Regions from separate parts of the Homo sapiens genome. Here region 1 is linked to region 2. Evidence: promoter capture Hi-C in 16 types of primary human blood cells and fetal thymus (Javierre and others, 2016). All regions are on one chromosome and are shown on one strand. The core of a region is centred on a gene start or on the middle of the fragment in contact, and the rest is flanking DNA. Distances in the headings are between cores, read along the strand shown.

Region 1 (5,358 bases), core at 1,980-4,479, 1.1 Mb after region 2:
CTGCTGTTATTCTGATAGGTTTTCCTTTGTATGTTACTTGATGCTTTTGCCTCATAGCTCTATTATTTATTTAGTTAGTTAGTTAGTTAGTTGGACTCTCGTTCTGTCACCCAGGGTGGAGTGCAATGGTGTGAACTCGGCTCCCTTGCCTCCAAGGTTCAAGTAATTCTCCTGCCTCAGCCTCCCCGGTAGCTGGAACTACAGGCACATGCCACCACACCCAGCTAATTTTTGTACTTTTAGTAGAGACAGGGTTTCACCATGTTAGCCAGACTGGTCTTGAACTCCTGACCTCAAGTGATCCGCCTACCTAGGCCTCCCAAAGGGTTGGGATTACAGGTGTGAACCACCACTCCCAGCCTTGCCTCACAGCTCTTAAGATTCTTTCCTTTGTCTTGACTTTAGAGAACCTGATGACTGTGTGCCTAGGTGAAGATCTGTTTGCGATGAGTTTTCCAGGTGTTCTTTGAACTTCTTGTATTTAGATGTCTAGCTCTCTGGCAAGGCTGGGGAAGTTTTCCTTGATTATTCCCTCAAATATGTTTTCCAAACTTTGAGATTTCTCTTCTTCCTCAGGAACATCAATCATCCTTAGGTTTGGATGCTTAACATAGTCCCAAACTTCTTGGAGACTTTGTTCATTTTTTTAATCATTTTTTCTTTGTCTTTGATGGATTAGATTAATTTGAAAACCTTGTCTTTGAGCTCTGGAGTTATTTCTTCTGCTTGTTCAATTCTATTGCAAGACTTTCCAGTGCATTTTGTATTTCTCTAAGTGTGTCCTTCATTTCCAGAAGTTGTGTTTGTTTTTTTATTTATGCTGTCTATTTCACTGAAGATTTTTCCTTTCATATCCTGTATTATGTTTTTGATTTCTTTAAGTTGGATTTCACCTTTTTCTGGTGCCTCTTTGATCAGCTTAATAATTGATCTTCTGAATTCTTTTTCTGGTAATTCAGAGATTTCATCTTGGTTTGGATCCATTGCTGGTGAGCTGGTTTGATCCTTTGGAGGTGTTAAAGAACCTTGTTTTGTAATATTACCAGAATTGTTTCTCTGTTCCTTCTCATTTGGGTAGACTATGTCAGAGGGAAGATCTGGGACTTAAGGGCTGCTGTTCACATTCTTTTGTCCCATAGGGGTGCTCCCTTAATTTGGTGTTCTCCCCTTTCCCCTAGGGATGAGGCTTCCTGAGACCTGAACTGCAATGACTGATTTTGCTCTTCTGGGTCTAGCCACCCAGTGTAGCTACAGGGCTCTGGGCTAATACTGGAAAGTGTCTGCAAAGAGTGCTGTGATGTGATCTGTCTTCAGGTCTTTCAGCCACAGATACCAGCACCTGCTCCGGTGGAGGTAGCAGGGGAGTTAAGTGGAGTCTGTGAGGGTCCTTAGTTGTATTTTTGTTTAGTGCACTGGTTTTGTGTTGGTTGGCCTGCAGCCAGGAGGTGGCATGTTCAAGAGCACATCAACTACAGTACTAGAAGGAGGATGTATACTTGCCCTGGGGTTGTCTGGTTACGTATTCAGGTTTCTCAGGTGGTGGGCAGCGCCATAGAGCTCTCAGGATATTATGTCCTTTGTCTTTGGCAACCAGAACGGGTAGAGAAAGACCACCAGGTGGGGGCAGACATAGGTATGTCTGAGCTCAGACTCTCCTTGGGTGGAGCTTGCTGCAGCTGCTGTGGGGAATAGGGGTGTGATTCCCAGTCCAATGGAGTTATGTTCCCTGGTGGATTGTGGCTGCCTCTGCTGAGTCATACAGGTCACCAGAGAAGTGGGACAAAGACAGCAGTCACAGGCCTCACCCCATTCCCATGTAGCCACAGTCCTAAATGCTGGTCTCACTTCCATCATGCCCCACCTACCACACCAAGTGTTTCCAGGCAGCTGGTGACCAGTTCTGAGAACTTGCCCCAGACCGTCAGCCACCCCACTGAGAAAGCAAGCTGATTCAGAGTTTTTTGGCATCTCAAGGAGCCTGCAGAAGCAATCCAGTTCCTTCAAAGGGTCTGTGGATTATCTCAGCTTACCTGGCATGTTCCTGCAGTAATTCTTGGAGAAAAGTTAATGATGTGAGTCTCTACATGCTGCCCTGTCTCTGACTAGCCTCCTATTTGCCATCTTAATCTCAGTCTTGATTCTGTGTTTGTATTTTTATCTTTCTTGACTGAATAGTGTATAAAGAAATGTATCACACTATGATTTTTTTTCAAAGTAGCACATTTTTGGTTTTGTTTTTTTTCCTTTTTCTGTTCATTTTCTATCTTATTGAGTTCGGCTCATTTCTATTATTTTCTTCCTTCTATTTTTTGAATATGCTTTTCCCATCTTTTTCTAGATTTGTAAGGCAGAAGCTTATAGAATTGATTTCAGACTCTCATTTTTTTCCTAATAAAAATAATTAATATGCTTAATGCTCCATTCACAGCAATCTGGGCTTTTTCTACCTTGCTTCTCCAAATTCTTCAAGCTTCTATCTATTACCCAGTTCAAAAACCACTTCCATATTTTCAGGTATTTGTTGTAGCAACAACTCTACTCCCAATATCAATCTTCCTGGTACTGTTTTGTGCTACTATAACAGGATATCAGAGACTGGGTAATTTATAAACTATAGAACTTTATTTGGCTCACAGCTCTGGAGGCTAGAAAGTCCAAGGTCAAGTGACCTGCTTCTGGTGAAGGCCTTGTCACTGGGTCATCTCATGGCAGAAGGCAGAAGGGCAAGAGTGTATGTGCATGAGAAAGAGAGAAGAGAGAGAATTAGAAATGGAGAGTTGAATCTGCTTTTATAACAAACCCACTCCCACGATAGCAGCACTAATTCATTCATGAGGGCAGGGCCCATGTGACATAATCGCCTCTTAAAGGTCCTACCTCCCAATACTGTTGCATTGGGGTTTAAGTTTCCAACACATGAATCTTGAGGGACATTCAAACCATAGCAGCCATATTATACTGCCATCATTCTACTTTAAGTTATTGTGCCCTTCTTTATACAATTAATTCCCCAAAAGCAGAGATGAATAACATTTGATCTTTTCTCACAAGACCAAACAGTGATTGTCACTTAATCTGACTGAGCAGATTATTCTGTTATGTAAAACTTTTTAAAACTAGTTTGATGCACTAATACTTTCCACAAACCTTCTTACATGATTTCCCACATATTTAAATGACTTGTTTATGAAATTTTTCCTCTTTGGTCAGTTGCTTGACGATCTGATCAGTGCCTTGTTATTGCTTAGCAACGACTGTTGTATTGAGGTTTCCAAGTTTCTCCAGAACTGTTTTGCCAGGTCCCAAGCTGGCAGAACTGAATGCCTTTAGCGTCCTATTTCTCCTGACTATGCGGCCAATGTCATCCTCCATTATTTTGTTTCCAAATAAGCAGCCAGATCCTTAGTAGCTCATTGACTTTCAGAATTCATTGAGAACAGAAAGACAAGGTATCTTCTGGTATTTTGAGAAAATATATGTCCTTTGAAAAGTTAGCTTTAGGAGATACACCTAATGCTAAATGACGAGTTAATGGGTGCAGCACACCAGCATGGCACATGTATACATATGTAACTAACCTGCACATTGTGCACATGTACCCTAAAACTTAAAGTATAATAATAATAAAATAAAATAAAAAATAAAAAAAGAGAAAAGTTAATGCTAAACAGAGAATAGAAGTAAGAAAATGCAGTGTCTTTGAATTGGAAAAAGAAAGATTGTACTTCCTCTCCACCAACAAAAAGACAGAAGAAAGAGGAGAACAAATGAATTTTCTGACTTGAAGTTATAATCCTACGAGGGAAAAAATGCTGCTCAGTAACTGCAGGAGTTCTTGACCACTGGAACCTCCCAGGTGTCAGCTTTTTCACAAAATATTGGAATATTTGAATAAATCTGGGATTATCTAAGGGAGGGCAGTTGGGAAGACCAGTTGGGTCAGAGAAGCAATCATAACACATATTTAATATACCTTTATACTGATGGATGAAGCTTCAAATTGACAGTTGAGCAGATTGTCATTAAATAACGAAAAGTACCTAAGTTTTTATCCAAAGCTTAATTGTTCCTCTCTTTGCTCCTAAAACTCAACATGCTTTCTCTCTTAGTACAGAACCTCTGCATGTGTGTAGTTTTCACTGCCTAAAATAATCTTTTCATCCTTCTTTGCTTAGGTGATTCCTATTTTTCTTTCTTGTTCAACCTACTTAGGTTTACTTAAAATGACCTTACCCAACCTTCAATATTATGTTAGGCTGTCAGGCTCCACTGTAACAGGCTTCTACTGTAGCACCCAGAAAGTTTCTTTCTTTGAAATAACTGACCACAACTGTATTGAAGTGAGGCTCAATGCCTACTTTTCCATTATACATTATACTTCCTATTAATGGGGACAGATAATATTTACAAAGTACCATATATCAGGCACTATGATTAGTATTATTCATGTTACATCATTTAATAAATGCAATTAACATGAGATACATGCTAAGTTTATGACTATTTTCCGGAGGAGGAAATAGATGCACAAAGACATAAAAACAACTTGATAAAGGCTTCACACACAGCAAGTAGTGAAACCAAAATTTGAACCCAGGAAGTATAATTCCAGCATCAAGGTGTTAACTACCACTTCACCTTCATTTATGAAAGTACAAAACAATGTAGTTCATCTTTGTAAATAAGAAAAGCTCAATATTTATTACATGAAATATCCACCATACCTCTTTAACTGCTATTTCAATCAGAATTCTTACTTTCAAGCAACAAAAAATAATTCTAGATATTTTAAGCAAAGAAAAATTATTGAAAAGATGATGGATACCTCACAGAATCACTAGGAAAACAGAAAAGTAATAAAATAAAAGAAAATAAAAATACAAACCAAGTAACAACCAGGACCTCTGTAAAATTAATCCAGAGAACTAATTCTGTGCTGAAGTGTTATTGCAACCACTGCTGAACTTCAGATGACATGGTTTATATAAATAGTTCTTTTGTGTTTATTTCAGATGGTTTTCGAACATTGATCAAGTAACTATATATAATAGTGACCACTGTGGAAAATCATTTTGATTTAAAATTTTAGTAGTTAATACATATGATTCAGTTATAATTTTAGAAATTTTTGAGGATTTATGTCTCGAGAAACTTCTCTGAAGTTCAATTTACAGTTAAAAGCATCATAAAAGCGATTTTAAGTGAATGTTTTATAGTGTATTTTAATATAGTAGACATTATAATATGTTTTAACAGAATAAGTAATGAAAATAATGTTTTTCTAACTAACACACTCAATCCTTTTTGTTTGTTTGATAGCCCTCTTTTTACACTAGCATGTACTAGGAAACCATAGGT
Region 2 (5,675 bases), core at 1,021-3,520:
TCAAGCTACTAATATGACATCATATAATGCATAGTTAGATATGCAAAAATAGGCTCTTGCAAGCTGGTGTGTGCTCTCTCCAGCACACTGCTGCCCTCAGTATTTGTGGGGTACCTGGTACATTTCTTCCACCTATCACTATTTTTCCAATGGCAATAAAATTGATGTGACTGCCTTTAGGTTTCCATCTCCATTTCCCTCTGATTTTATTCTGCCATTATATGCAATTGACATTTTTAAGCTTCTGTCTGTCTCTTAAATCCAAAGAGTTACCATAAGTTCGTTTTCAGAAACCAAACATTTTGTGTCTGTCTCTGTAAAACTGTGTATAGGCAAGAACTATGAATTCTTTACCTTGGTTCTTTAGCTGGTTAAGGAGTCACATAGGTCTTTAATGGCATTTGTGAAAACTGTGAAAACTATGGAAAATAATGTGAGTATGTTTATCTATGGGGAAAGGTCCATAAATTTCATTAGCTTTCTAAGGGACCACAATGCAGAAAAAGGTTCAGAACATCTGCCCCAAACTTCCTTGTAATTTACTTTACATTCTTTTCTAGTTCTCTCAAGTTCCCATTCCCTGTGATAAATTAGCAAGTGTGCCTCACCCCTAAAGCTTTTCTTTGGACTGTCCAACACTGGATAGTGACTCACATGCCATGACATATCTATTCCTACCTTTTGTATTATGAATTATCCATGAAGAAAACAGCTAGAGTATATTCTAAGAAGGTTACTACAACTTTTTAAGACAAAGGATGGAACCATGGAGATCCAGGTCTTACTTTTGATCTTAAAACATTTCTGCTACATGACTTTGGCAGAGTATGTAATACAGTGATGAAGAGCATAGCATTTGAGATACAGAACACCTGGGTTCAAATCTCAACTGTGCCTCATGTTATTCACATGGCCTTTGGGGGCCTAAATGTCTATAAATCTGTTCCATCATCTGTAATATATCGCTAATAGTAATATATATTTCATTTCGCTGTTTTGGAAGAATAAATGGAATATGTCTTAAAAGCAGTTAGTAGAACACCTAGCCTGAAACAAAGAGTCAATACATGTTAATTGCCAGGAGTATTATTTATCATTTCATTATTGTTATTTTCCTAATTCCACTACAAATGTCTTGGGTGATATATCATACTTATATTTTATGACCAAATATACAACATATTTACTATTTGTTTGGTGAATGAAAAATATTTTAAAAACCCACATGCAATAGGCAGTAAGAGAGCAAGTTCGCTTTTCTACAGTGCAAGTCATTCATGCCAGGTTTGTATCAAATAAAACTATGTCTGTTCATTTTGTAAGCAGCAGACTGAGCATAGCCTTGCGGATTTGTTTTGTTTTTACACTGTCGATGATGGGGTTGAGCACAGGGGGTAAAAGCAGGTATACATTAGCCATCACTGAATGGACTACTCTGGGGGCTGACCGACCATAGCGATACACCAAGGACAGGCTCAGCATGTGGATGTAGAAGAAAGCAACTGCTCCCACATGGGAGACACAGGTGCTGAAGACCTTGTGCCATTCTTCAGGGGAGGCAATTCTGAGGACAGAGTGAATAATTAAGATATATGACAGGACAATGCATGGTGTATCTATTCCAGTGGTCAGGATGAGATCAATTAATCCACAGATGCTATTTGCCCGAATGTCTGAACATGCTAATTGAATCACATCTGGATGGTAACAATAGGAGTGAGAAAGGGCATTCATTCTACAGAAATAGAGAGGCTTAAGGAGCAAAAGTAGTGGCAATATTAGTACTATAGCACGTGTAATCATCAGAAGACCCATTTGAATGATTCTGGAATTAGTGAGAATGGTAGTGTACCTCAGAGGGTCACAGATGGCCACATAACGGTCAAAGGCTGTAGCCACCAGCACTCCAGATTCCATAAAAGTGAATCCATGAAGAAAAAACATCTGGACAATGCAGCTATATAGACTGATTTCACGTGCCTCAAACCAGAGGATACCTAATGTTGTTGACAATGAAGAAACAGTCAAGCCCAGATCAGTGGCTGATAGCCTGAAGAGGAAATAATACATGGGTTCATGGAGACTCTGCTGGGTAATGATGACAAACAGGATCACGCTGTTCCCAGAGAGGGCAATGGCATAAAAACAACAGAAAGGAATGGAGATCCAGACATGGGCAGACTCTAGGCCAGGAATGCCGGTCAACAAGAAGGTTGGAAATTTAGATGTTGAGTTGCTTAGGATTTCCATGGTGTCCTGGTTTTGCAGCATTTGTCCTCACAATGCTTCCATCCTATAGAAGTGATACATTAAGTGTTATGTAAAATATTTAGATACATTTTCTTTTAGTTAGTAGAGTTATCCAAGGTCATAGATAAGATCTGCATCATTGAGAAACCTTTAAATTAAATTATAATGTTCATCTACCACTCATAATCAGAAATAGTTCACAAAAATATGTTTTTGTACCATAAAATTCAAGGGAAATATGTCCATATGATTTTATACATTTTCATGATAGTGTCCATTTACAGAATATATTAAGATGCATCATATTGTAAGATTATTTGAATAAAGACTTAGCTGAGAAAAAATAAGTATCCTCAATTTTGAATATTTTGTGAGTACAATGAATAATAGCCACTTAAAAATATCCATGGTTCTTCAGTGACCATAAGGGTATGAGTCTGCAGACACAGATCTCCAGATATTTGCCAGGAATATAAAGTTATCAATGTATATTTATCATTTTCATCCAACACTATAGGTAAACAACTTCAGAGACTAGAATTATAAGAGAAAAACAATGAGGACAGAACTCTCCAGAAGACTGGAATGCACTATATACACTAAAGCAAGATGAGACTGGTTTTATGGGGACTATGAAAACCAAAAGAGGCTGGGCAGGTGGCTCATGCCTGTAATCCCAGCACTTTGGAGGCAGAGGTGGGCGGATCACGAGGTCAAGAGATCAAGATCATCCTGGCCAACATGGTGAAACCCCGTCTCTACTAAAAATACAAAAATTAGCTGGGCATGGTGGCGTGTATCTGTAGTCCCAGCTACTTGGGAGGCTGAGGCAGGAGAATCGCTTGAACCCAGGAGGCAGAGGTTGCAGTGAGCCAAGATTGCACCACCGCACTCCAGCCTGGTGACAGTGAGAGACTCCGTCTAAAAAAGAAGAAAAAAAAAAAACATGGTGTGAAGACCGGATGTTACATGAGCAGCTGTGTCGAATTGCTTGCGCTGTGAAGCCTAGTAAGGATTAAAAAATTCAAATGCAGCTGAGAGCCATTAGCGATCCCAGAAAAAACAGTGGAAAATTGAGAACCTGCTACAGTGTGGTAATGATGAAAGTATTAGCAGTGGAGGTACGGTTTATTTTAAGAAACTTGGCAGTGAAGGCAAGGGGAGAAGTAGGCCATGTCTAAAGAAGGGGTATCAGGTAGATGGAGAATTTTTGCAAGATGGGACAGAATTCGAGAAATTGATATGTTTATAAACGGAGGTTAAAAATGTAGCAGATAATGAGAAATTTAAAATATAGAATGTGAAGGATTTATTGATCTATAAAAGTCCTTAAGAAAGTAGTGGGTGATTAAGTGTAGAGCATGAGTAACCTTCAAAAAAATGAGGACCATCATTTGCACTGACACTAGTAAGTGTCAAATATGTAAGTTTGTGGAGAGTTATATAAGGAAATTGTTACCTTTTTCTCTGTGAAGTATTTGGGGGTAATTTACTGCTGTTCAAAAGTGTAAAGTGATGGCTGCTGGCTTCCGGATACAGTAGACGTTTTCAGGAGACAGCGAATGAGAAGGGCAATTGGCTCAGTAAACAGAAATGCTATATCGCCTCTTTCAAGTAAAATTCCAAGAATAATTTTGTCAATTAATATATTTATATTGTTCAAATCAATTCTGGGGAGAATTAAATTAAATAATAGCAGTATTCATGAGTATAATGTTAGTATTTTTCAATCAAGTCTTTAAAAAATTAGATGTGTCAAATTCATGAGAGTAAATATTCTGTAGCAAGGATACAAGTTACTGTTCCCTTTATGCTAGTATTCTGTGGTTTATTTTAAATCTCCAGTTGTCTGATTTTCAATTCAATCTGAGAAACATTATGAAAATATTTAAGTATGAATTATTAGAGGTTGTATATCTACATGTTATGTGGATCGATGAGGACAGGGCAAACCCTCATGATATCTGACTTTTCTATAAACCCATATGACTATTTGTGAATAGGTAACAAAGTAAAAGTCAACACGATAAATATATCTATCTCCCTTCTTACCAGCTTTACGTGGAAAGAGGAACCTTCTCTGTCTTTGCTAGATGAGGAAGGATAGACTACAGTTCTGGAGCCATGGACTTTATAGTAAGGTAGAATTGAGCTGTGAGATTATTTGTATGATTTATGTCTCTCTGCAGCCAAAGACAGAGCAAAAAAGAAACCACCCTCTCTCCCTATCTATAAAAATTAGAGGGCAGGAGTGTGTAATCCCAGAGGGTTTTAGTTACTAATCCAAGTAACCTGTGGTCCACAGGGACATTAAATGCAGAGGAAAATAAACCAAATTATGCATATAAATAGAAAATTTACACACTGTTCATAGCATTGGGGAATAGAGAGATGTACATCATTGTCTCTGGATTATAAGTGTACTGGCAAGATAGGAAAAGAAACCACTGTTCACTGGGATCATTATGGTCACAATAAAGAGGGAAAACTTTACACCCAGTCTCTAGGCTCCTATGCCTACATTTCCACATTGAACCATAGGGAGAATGATAGATGTCCATTCTCAAATCCATTCTTTTTCAAACACTGAGTTTTCCCCCAGTAAATGTGTCAGCTCCTGATATATTAATTTGGCCCTGTTTTGCTAGTAGCTAGGGTTACCATGAATGAATGATGTTCTCATGTGCATGTATTCTTACTCTGTTCCCTGCTGTTTTCTTGCATTAATACTTTCAAGCACCTGATTATTGAGAGAGTTTTTTCATTTTTGTCAGTGTAGGCAGTTGACTAATGGATGCAGACACTTTACAGTCTACTAATTCTAGGTTCATAAGAAAAGTCTCACATTCAAGCCTTTTGTTTCTCCTTTATAGAGAAGCTGCACATTTGTGGAGACAGTCTTGTTTTTGTTTAGGTATCAATAATACCAGTAATTTGTTCCTCACTCAGCTATTTTTCTTTGATTTCTACTCTGCTATTACTCCTGTGCATTCCTGTTCAAGTAATTTTAATGGCTGAAAGTGTGATGGGTTCAATTGAAGCACTATATCTCTACCCGGCATTCCCATCAACTGTTTTGACTAATACTTCCACGACAAAAATGAACTATAATCAAATCATTTTATAAGTCAGAAATAAATAATTAAAAGTTTCGCCTCTGTTGTCTTAAAGAGCTAACTATCTAGAGTTTTCACCCAAATATCTGTGACGGTCAGATTGTAAAATAATAAAATAGTCCCTCAGTACTCCTACCTTCTTGGACTCAGCCCATGTTTATCCTCTGCTGTTGAGTGTGGGTAGGACCTCTGACTAACTTCTAACCAATAGAATATGGCAAAGTTGACAGGATATCATCACATATATGTCATATAAGATCTGTCTTTGGTGAATCAAGGTTCCATGTTTGGCAAACCTATGTGGCAAAA

The links. The method cuts DNA at HindIII sites, captures the fragments that hold promoters and counts their contacts. A CHiCAGO score of 5 or more calls a contact.
Region 1: a contact is called between a fragment that was not itself captured here and the fragment with the promoter of OR51F1 in region 2, in 1 of 17 cell types (M0 macrophages). The highest score is 5.1, in M0 macrophages.

Annotation. Positions count from the first base shown.
Region 1 is chr11:5,908,953-5,914,310 of GRCh38, forward strand. The region is part of intron 2 of LOC112268071 (a long non-coding RNA gene); the gene reads right to left. Among named protein-coding and RNA genes, the nearest start is that of OR52E5, 18 kb to the left of the region's middle. The HindIII fragment of the contact is 1,523 bases long and covers 2,469-3,991 here.
Region 2 is chr11:4,767,668-4,773,342 of GRCh38, forward strand. OR51F1 (olfactory receptor family 51 subfamily F member 1) reads right to left here and starts at 2,271. Exons shown (of 1, transcript NM_001004752.2): 1 at 1,312-2,271. The coding sequence starts at 2,271. The coding sequence ends at 1,312. All of the region lies in intron 2 of MMP26 (matrix metallopeptidase 26), which reads left to right. The HindIII fragment of the contact is 5,192 bases long and covers 615-5,675 here.